Regions from separate parts of the Homo sapiens genome. Here all the other regions are linked to region 1. Evidence: promoter capture Hi-C in 16 types of primary human blood cells and fetal thymus (Javierre and others, 2016). All regions are on one chromosome and are shown on one strand. Each heading gives the region's core, a stretch centred on a gene start or on the middle of the fragment in contact. The rest is flanking DNA. Distances are from core to core; before and after follow the strand shown. Region 1 holds the start of STYXL2 (serine/threonine/tyrosine interacting like 2). Region 2 overlaps POU2F1 (POU class 2 homeobox 1). Region 3 overlaps POU2F1 (POU class 2 homeobox 1).

Region 1 (3,182 bases), core at 593-3,092:
CATTGCAAATATTTCCCCTAGCATTTCTTTGTGTTATGAATTCATAGTATCCTACATGACTTATTGTTATTAATCCTTTTGACTGCTAGGTTTGGTTGACATACAAAATTTGTTGTTTTCTGTTTATTACATTTCACTCAGGCACCTTGTTAATTCTCTTATTATATGTAATAATTGTTCAGCCCCAACATTTTATAATATCTTTGCCAAATTAGTCTTCCTAATTACTTGTCTGCTTGGGTCCTATCACTGACTCTGCAGAACCTAACAAATTAGCTTTTAAGGTATTCTAGCATTTGTTCTCAAACACAGTCTACCTTCCAGAATACGTAATTTATGCTCTGACCAAGTTAGACATATTTTCATACCCAGAACTCATACTTCCTTACCCCCAAAACTTTATTGATGCCACCCCCTCGGTAATTCCCTTCCCCTACTATATCTGCTATTATAATCTTACTTGTCCTTTAGAAGTCAGCTCATATATCACCACTGCTTCTATGAAGTCTTTCCTGATTTCTTCAGTCAGAAGGGCTCTTTCTCACCTTTGAACTCACACAGCACTCTGGATCTCTTTTAGGACACTAACTACATTCTCTCTTATGCTTGAGTTATTTTTGGTCTGTGTCTCATTCCTCCTAATAAACAGTGAGCTCATTCATTCAGCCATTTCTAATGATACGATATACCAGGCATCATTCCACCTAACTAGGAAGAAAGACAACTTTAAGCTATGTGTTTTGCCAATTTTGGTCAAGTAAAGTGTCATATGTAGTAGGTAATCAATGAATATTTTAAGTTGGTAAATGGATGGATAAATGGATGAAAGGATGACTATGGTATGTGTGGGATGAGAGGTGTGGGCTATTTGGCTTTGCTTTGATCATTGTGATGGTAGAGGGGTTAGTAGGGTAAGACAGCTTATTTGACATTTATGAAGCTCATGGAATTCTTAAGTCACCCAGGGTTGCCAATCCATTATCACCTTGGGGTGTGAGTAGAGGGGAGGAAATGTGGAGGGTGAGCACAACTGTCCAGTTGACCATCCTGAGACATGTCTATTAAAAGAAATGCAGGCAGGGCACGGTGGCTCACACCTGTAATCCCAGCACTTTGGTGGACGGAGGTGGATGGATCACTTCAGCCCAGGAGCTCGAGACCAGCCTGGGCAACACAGTGAGACCCCATCTCTACAAAAAATTTAAAAATTATCTGGGTGTGGTGGCATGTGCCTGTACTCCCAGCTACTCAGGAGGCTGAGGTGGGAGAATCACCTGACCCTGAGAGGTTGAGGCCGCAGTGAGCTGTGATGGCACCACTGCACTTTCACCAGGGCAACAGAGCGAGACCCTGTCTAAAAAAAAAGAAAAAGAAATGTAATCCTGGTCACAAGCAATGACTACTCTTTAATTGTACCACAGTGCTCTCCCAATATCTATCTGTTGAGTACCCTTTCCATTCTATATATCTGGTCCTTTTTTTAGGCCTCTCTAGTTGACATGCGGCTGTGGTAAGTTTGTTTATTCTTCTATATCTTTGGATTTAGACTCTCTTCTGGAAGAACTTTGAATAGGCTGTCCCAGGCAAGAGGGTCTGAAGAGAGAACCCAGAGAAAAGCTGTTCTTTAGATTCTCCATCTACCAAGCACAAACGTCTTCCAATTCTGCTGCTAAATGTAAGCGTCTGGAGAATCAGCCAGGAGGGAAAGAGTTAAGTGAGGACTGCTTTGGGGCCTGGGTCCAGAGCCTGCATTCCTTCCTCCCAGAAATCTGCCAGCCTATGGGGCCAGAGGCTAAATTTAGAGGGTGGCTAAGGTTTCCTGTTAACAGCTGTCCTGCCCCTAGGAGAAGAAGCCCTGAGGAAGGAGGTGGCTGGTTCCTGTCTCACTGGCCGGAGCTTCAGCTTCAGTCATTTCATCTGGGTCCCTCAGCCCTTGGTGGGGAACATCCAGGCAGGTTAGAGGTGAGTGTGCTTCTCCCCTTGTCAATCCTGGTGAGCCCAGGACTTACAATACAAGGGGCAGCGGCTTTGCCCTGAGTGTCAGGGCACAACCATGATGGCTGGGACCAGCTGCTGGTATCCTTCATGTCCTTTAATAGGCTCCAGGATGACGCCTGAGCCAAAGGCCCTACCTCCTGTGGCCTTGGTTAGAGACACCGAAGGCCAGCTGTGTCTTCCCCAGCAGAGACAAAGGTGTGCGCATGGGCATAGGTGAGGGGCGTGTGTGTATGCACATCCTATAATTTCAACTGAAAAATCTTGCTGGTCCAGGGAAGTCATTGTTCTTCAACTTTTTGAGCTGAGATCAGGTAACCTGCTGGCTCCTCTGCCTGCTCCCTTGCTGACATCTGTGGAAGGAGCCACACTGGCACTTCAATATTGTCACTTCAAGGTGGGCTCCTAATATGGCGGGGTGCACTTCTTGGTGTCCCGGTAACAGTGGCTGGGCCAGGTCTGACTGGATATTCCTTGCTGGTCTTTTGCCCACCGGGACCTTCCTAGTCCTAGTTCCACTGAGGTGACATCACCAACACAACTTCTCCCCCAACAAAACCTCAGGAACCTAATTCCCTAACTGCCTTTTTCTTGCCAAACTTTCAGAGGTTGGCAGGTTGTCATGGCGACCAGAAAGGACACAGAGGAGGAGCAGGTAGTCCCAAGCGAGGAGGACGAAGCCAACGTGAGGGCGGTGCAGGCCCACTACCTCCGAAGCCCCTCCCCTAGCCAGTAAGTGACCACTTATCTCCCACCCTCACAGCCCCAGCTGGGAGGGGCTGGGGACAGGTTGGGCCATTAGCTCCAGGGAGCCTGCAGCCATCACCTCGGTTCACTCATTTAACAAATATTATTGAGTACTTGTATGTGTCCTACTTTCTGGAGGAGGTAAATATGCAAATAGACTGATTGCAATGTGGCAGGTGTGTGCTAGATATTAATATGACCAGGATCTAGTATGTGGTGGACTAGACAATAGGGAAGGGAACAACTGGACTTGGAAGGTCATAGGAGGCTTGGCTGGAAGAGATGATGATGGACCCGAACCTCAGAGGATGAGTAGGAATTTGGCCCTGCTTGATTCAGTAGGACTGGGGCTGGATATGGGGATGACAGGCCGTAGACTATAAGAAAAGGGATGAGGAGAGGAGAAGCCCATGGAAGCATTCCCTAGCACTAAAATAATT
Region 2 (3,361 bases), core at 644-3,143, 170 kb after region 1:
GGATAAGAGTAGGTAGCAGTTTTTGGGTTGCTCACTATATGCTAGATTAGTATACTTAAAATTTTAGTGCATTTAATGCACTAAAATTTTAATGCATTAGCTCTTCATGACAGTAGTATGAATTAACTATATTTTTTTGTTCCTTTTAGAAATTAGTAAACTGAAGCCCAGAGGAAACTTAATACTTAGCTAGGATTATGAACCCATGCCAGCTAGCTTCAGGGTCTCAACTTTAAACCACTATTTTATAGTATTTCTCATTTGATTTATAAATGTCTTGTCTGATTTGAAACATTTGAATAGGAGAGTGGTTCCCAGTCAACCATAACATATCTAAAATTTGTCTGATTACTGATGTTTAAAGAGGTAATTGTTAAAATGAGTCAAGCAAGCGCTATAAGGACTAGTTACAGTTTATTTTTAGAATTTTATTAGGTTTTTTTAAATGGTCACCTTTGAGATCTGCCCCTCTCCCCTGCCACTCATGAAAGGAAAGATGCAGAAAATGATTCTTTATTTTGGAAAACTATTTTTGTGTTTTTAGATGTCTGGATTTTTCATGTGTGCACTAGCAGAGGATTCTTGCATAAGATAATGGGGCCAGTGAGCATGAACGGTTGTAGGTTGGAGATGTGGTCCTCTGCATGGGTTATTTTTCTTTTTAAGAGCAAGATATAGGGATAGATATAGCTGTTGGCACAGTCTAGGGGAACACATTGTTTTAGATAATCTTGCCTCTTCCTGCCCTCTAGCCAAGCTTCTGATAAGCATTTTGCATTGAGGATGACCAACTTTGATCTCTCCACTCAATTTCCCATGGCACTTGTTATCTGTACCAGCTCTTTGGAAATTCATATTCAATTTAGGATTTGATTTTGTTTTTTGTTTTTTAAGACAGAGTCTTGCTCTGTTGCCCAGGCTGGAGTGCAGTGGCACAATCTTGGCTTGGCTCACTGTAACCTTCGCTTCCCAGGTTCAAACGATTCTCATACCTCAGCCTCTTGAGTAGCTGGGATTACAGGCACGTGCCATCATGCCTGGCTAATTTTTGTATTTTCAGTAGAGATGAGGTTTCACCATGTTGCCCAGGCCAGTCTGGAACTCCTGACTTCAAGTGATCCGCCTGCCTCAGCCTCCCAAAGTGCTGGGATTACAGGCATGAGCCACTGTGCCCAGCCTTGATTATGTTTGATAACACTTTTGTATTTTTCTGATTGCTTTGAAAATATGTTTCGTGTACCTAAGAATAGAACCTTAGGAACCTTCTTGGGACAGGGATGGTGTTTTATACTTATTTTTAATCATCTCTACAGTCTTAGCACAGCAGCTAATTACAGTGCAGGTGTTCAATAAATGTTGCTTTTTTTGAGATGGGGTCTCACTATATTGTCCAGGCTGAGGTGCCATGGCTACTCACAGGTGCAGTCATGGCATATTGCAGCCTCAGGCTCCTAAGCTTAAGTGATCCTCCCACCTCAGCCTCCCAAGTAGCTGGACTAGGGGTGCCCACCACTGTGTCTGGTGCTTCTTTCTTTTAGTGTGGCTTAACTAATGAGACCCCAGAGATAAGGGCAAATTTTATATTTGATTTAAAATTGTTGAGTGTTTTATTCAACACTAATTTATTCAGTGTACTTTGTTCAGCGAATTGCGGGAAACACAAGATGAATCAGAAACCGTATCTGCCCTCAAAGGGACTAAGTTCTTAAACAGTTTAAGTTATAAATATAGTTGCTTGCTTCTGTGTACATACGTACCCTCTTAGTTTCACAGAGGGAGCTAGAAGTTGTTTATAATTTAATTGAGGAGATCAAACATATGAAGAAAAATCATTCAATGTAGAATGTGGTGAGTCACAAAGCCCCTGGGGATGGATTTTGTACTTGAGGTGGGTTGAAGAAAGATGCTTAGAGTGGCAGTAACAAGGGAGCTGGGCCCTCAATAAAGAAGGTAGGATTTTGACAGGTGGGTTAAGGATGGAGGGTGGGGTTGCATTTAAGAAAGAAAAAAACAGTGTGAAGCAAGGTCTGGTAGAGGCAGAAAAAGCTGGCCATGTTTGGAGCAAAAGTAGTTCAATTTGGCTAGAATATAGGAGAGAAAAGTACATAAATTGGGGCCAGTTTATGTAGAGTCTTAAATATCAGGCTAAGGTGTTTGGACTTAATTCAGTAGACAGTGGGGAGCCACTGAAGTGTTTTGAGTAATATGATCTGAGCCATACTTTTGGAAGATTAATCTGGTTGCATTGTCAGTAATGAATGAGAAAATGAAAGTGTTTTCCATTGTTGGAACACTTTTTTGTTTTCTTTATAAACATAACTAAAACAAATGTAAGCTTAGTGTAGCTATCAAATAACACTAAAAACCTTTATTAATGAAAATGTAAGAAAAGATATGTTTTTGTATATCCAGCTATTTTAAAAAACATGTCGGCCGAGTGTGGTGGCTCATGCCTGTAATCCCAGCACTTTGGGAGGCCGAGGCGAGTGGATCACCTGAGGTCAGGAGTTTGAGATCAGCCTGACCAATATGATGAAACCCTGTTTCTACTAAAAATGCAAAAATTAGCCGGGCGTGGTAGCATATGCCTGTAATCCCAGCTACTCAGGGGGTTGAGACAGAATTGCTTGAACCCGGGAGGCAGAGGTTGCAGTGCGCCAAGATCGGGCCATTGCACTCCAGCCTGGGCAACAAGAGCGAAACTCCGACTCAAAAAAAAAAAAGGCCCTATTCACCTGTTGGCTTCTAATTCAGATTTTTGCATTTAGCCTCTTCAGTGAGTTATGTACCACAGATAGATATAAACTTCCAAAAACACAGTTCCGATTGGTATATTTTACTACTCAAAGCCTTCAGTATCTCTCCATTTGGCTGCTGAATAAAGTCCAGATTTCATACCCCAACAGTCAAGGCCCTCCCTCATTCATCTCTCCTACTACTCTACTCTCTGGCTGTTTCAGACAAACTATTCTTAAGACTCCTTGTGATTTCCTACTTCTTTGTCTCATTTACTCTAGTTCTTGTGACCTTCATAGAGTCTTAAGAATAAAAGGGAGGGAAGATATGTTGAAATCTTGAGAACACCTGTGAGTAGGTCATATGTGGCAGAGCTGGGATGAAAGCTCTTCTATTACTTGTTATTTTTTGTAATTGCTATGTGCCAGGTATTGTGGCCAATCCTGGGTTATGATGGTAAGTGAAACAAAAGTGATCTCTGCTCTTTATACCTTATGGTCTATAGAGACAAATATTAACCACTATATATAGTAAACCAATGTTGCAATTACAAACTTGGATGGGTCCTATCAAGGAAAAGTACTTTGAGGTACTTTAAGAGAAGATAATGGGCAAAGGGAGTACA
Region 3 (3,004 bases), core at 194-2,693, 240 kb after region 1:
CTACACGGAAAACAAACCATTCAGTCTGCTGCTTTACCACCTCTCAGCAATTCCCTACGTGTTTAACTCATCCATAATGCATAGGAATAGCCAAGAGCACAGATTCTGATATCAGAAAATTCTAGTTTTAAATCCTGATTCCGAATTACTAGTGTGACATTGGATAAAGTGTTTTAGTTCTCTGTGCCTCAGTTTCCTTACTTTAATAATATATAAGGAAAGAAAGGGGTAATAATGCTTATTACTCCATGGAGATTTTATAAATCTCCTGAATTGTCTGTGATGATTAGGCTGTTGTCATTGTAATGCCTAAAAAATTTTGGGTTGATGACTTACCTTGTAAATATACTTTAAATTGAATAAACATATAGTTTAGTAAGGATTATATATATGTATGTATGTTCATTAAGTGAAATATACTTGAGAATACCAAGTAATTCCACAATTTACATGGCCCACCCTTTGACAATAGAGATTCTAAGTAACAAACTGTCTTCTTTCTACTTGAGATTTATTTTCATGGGGGAAGGATACTGCATAATATGTAGCATTCAACTAATCTATTCTGTTAATTTGGTAATATAAAAAGATTTGTAGATAATGAATTTCTATACTCTTTAAGATACTTTATACACCTTGCACTGCTTCTGGGTTTACTGTTGCCTCGTTTTAAAGTGGGACTTTCTCTTGACGGAAGTGTGTTAAGAATTGGAAAATTCCCTATCAGTAGACTAGCACCATCTTGACAGCCTTGTGTTCTGCTTCTACCTTGCTAATTGTTTCCTTGGGATTATTTGGATTGTGTAGAAAGCTTTTTGCAAATCCTCTTATTACTGAAGTCATTGTTGCCAGCAGGAATAAGATTAAAGGTGCTTAAGTCTGTAGGGTTGTTTCTAATTTGTACGTGTCATTTCAGTGGCATTTTAACAGAACTCTGTCTCCTGTACCTCCCTTCTCCCTTGGTACTATCTCCAGTTAGGTCCAAGAAGCCAGGCCATTGGAAGAAGTCTCATTTTATCCTCCTAATTATTATGCTGGCACTCAGGAGATAATTTTTCCCTTCATGCACTGCCAATTAATATGCAAATAGCCTGATAAATATTTATGCAACGATTTAAATTATGCAGGGAGTGCTTTCAGTATATTCTGTAAATGAATTGTTCATGGACTTCAAAGTGCTGGCTGCTGTGCTAACGAGGAGAGATTTGCATAAGGCCCTAATCACGCGCATACTGATTAAGCTTCATTATGGAAACTGCCAGCTGCAATCTTTGTTTCTATTTTATTACAAAAAGAGGAACTTTTTCATGCTTCAGTTGCCTTGACAATGTCAGTCCTAGCTGGTAGGAGAGACTAAAACTCCTCTGAGCAACTGAAGTTTCCTTATTCAGTTGAAGATTGCTATGGTGTAACAGAAGTTGTATTTTGCTTTTCCCCTTAATCCACTTTCCACCCTACGCAACCCCCCTCTTTTCGCTTAAGAACATACTGTAGATTTGTTAGAAATAGTAGTACCTTCTTTCCCCACCCCAAACTGCTACCTGTTTCTTCCTTGTTTGGACTCTCTGCTCCTCTAGAAGATTTCACAGCAATGCTGGACTGCAGTGACTATGTTCTAGGTGGGTACCAGCACAGTTCTTTTCTTAGAAGCTTTAATATGGAAATAGAGTGTGTCGGGTTGACTATGCATAAATGCTTAATCGCATATGCAGCCTGTGGCGGGGGAGGGGGAGAGTTGGACTGAGCAGGGAAGGAGGAAAGCATTTGCAAAGCACAAGCTTACTTGAATTTGCAGTAGGTCCCTCCCTGTGACTAGCTCTTCTGATTCAGAGGGTATCGTTAGTAAATACAGTTAATTTAGAGTTCAGCTCGAATGAATATTTTTGCTTTTTGGAAATTCCTATTGAGAACATTTCATGTAGTTATAAAAACATCTTAAATCTGAAACAAGGCATAGAACTGTACATATATAATATATACATATTAATAAAAATGTTTTTCATACCTAATGAGAACGTCTTATACAAAAACCAAAATGCTCAGTGAAAAATAAGGTTGAGTCACAATGCAGAATAGTTTTTATAAATGTTAATAAAGAGGGTAATTGTACTGGTTGCTGCAACAGATCTGTTGATCGATTTCCAGATTTTAGAAACTATTAACTTTTCAAATTTTTGCTAGGATTAGTCCTCTTTTTAATTTTTTTAAAATCAACTATATACTCTAGATAACTACAACTTTAAATGTTGGAAAACCTTTTTAGAGTTTTCTCTGTAGAACAGCAAGCCTTTTGGAGTGGAAGATGTCCAGCTTAAATTTGTTAAAACCATCTTTGGTGATGAAGATTTCAAATAAATCAAGGCACTTTGATTTTTAGATATATGGTGGCTAATGGTGGTCATATTTTGTGTGGAGTTATGTCTGTTTATATGCAGAATTATTGAGACTTTTTTAGTTACTCTAGTCACCTGGAAAGTTAAATGATATGAACTCCGGGACTTGGATATCTTACATTTAAAACTTTTGCAAATGACTTTTTTCCTATATTGTCATTTTCTGCACTTGAAAATTAAAGCTGCTCCTGTCACCTTCATAGTTGCCAAAGATAAAGTAAAATGATACTTCTGAAAACGTTTGAATTCTTATGCATAAGGCATGGCCTAAACCCAGGGTAGCAGTATCTGCCCAGCACAGTAAAAGCCACTATGTAAAGAGTGAATGACAGAAACAACAAATTTATGTCAGGAATTCAATCTTGTATTTACTCTTTGACATTTACTTAGTTAACAATTCAAAAAAAGGAAAGAAAAATACCTTTTTGGAATATTTTTAACACATCATTTTAGAAGTAGAAATTACATCTCTTACTTTCAGTTAATAGTAAGTATTATTTAAACAGTCTTCCCATTGTGCAATTTTATTTTTGTGTGTATGTGAAGTAATGTTTTATTTTTGTGTGTATGTGAGATAATTTTGTTAAATGCTTTTGAAGCTCTTGACAGTT

What was found. Contacts are between HindIII fragments. The CHiCAGO score rates a contact against its expected background, and 5 or more counts as called.
Region 2: a contact is called between a fragment that was not itself captured here and the fragment with the promoter of STYXL2 in region 1, in 1 of 17 cell types (naive B cells). The highest score is 5.2, in naive B cells.
Region 3: a fragment that was not itself captured here is called in contact with the fragment with the promoter of STYXL2 in region 1 in 2 of 17 cell types (naive B cells and total B cells); the score reaches 5.7 in naive B cells.

What each region holds. Positions count from the first base shown.
Region 1 is chr1:167,092,233-167,095,414 of GRCh38, forward strand. It overlaps STYXL2 (serine/threonine/tyrosine interacting like 2), which reads left to right and starts at 1,843. Exons shown (of 6, transcript NM_001080426.3): 1 at 1,843-1,962; 2 at 2,602-2,727. The coding sequence starts at 2,618. The HindIII fragment of the contact is 6,143 bases long and covers 1-3,182 here.
Region 2 is chr1:167,260,807-167,264,167 of GRCh38, forward strand. The region is part of intron 1 of POU2F1 (POU class 2 homeobox 1); the gene reads left to right. LOC124900412 (a long non-coding RNA gene) reads left to right here. Exons shown (of 2, transcript XR_007066718.1): 2 at 1-3,361. Among named protein-coding and RNA genes, the nearest start is that of POU2F1, 42 kb to the left of the region's middle. The HindIII fragment of the contact is 879 bases long and covers 1,455-2,333 here.
Region 3 is chr1:167,327,688-167,330,691 of GRCh38, forward strand. The region is part of intron 1 of POU2F1 (POU class 2 homeobox 1); the gene reads left to right. Among named protein-coding and RNA genes, the nearest start is that of POU2F1, 110 kb to the left of the region's middle. RefSeq lists an enhancer at 30-2,122. The HindIII fragment of the contact is 409 bases long and covers 1,240-1,648 here.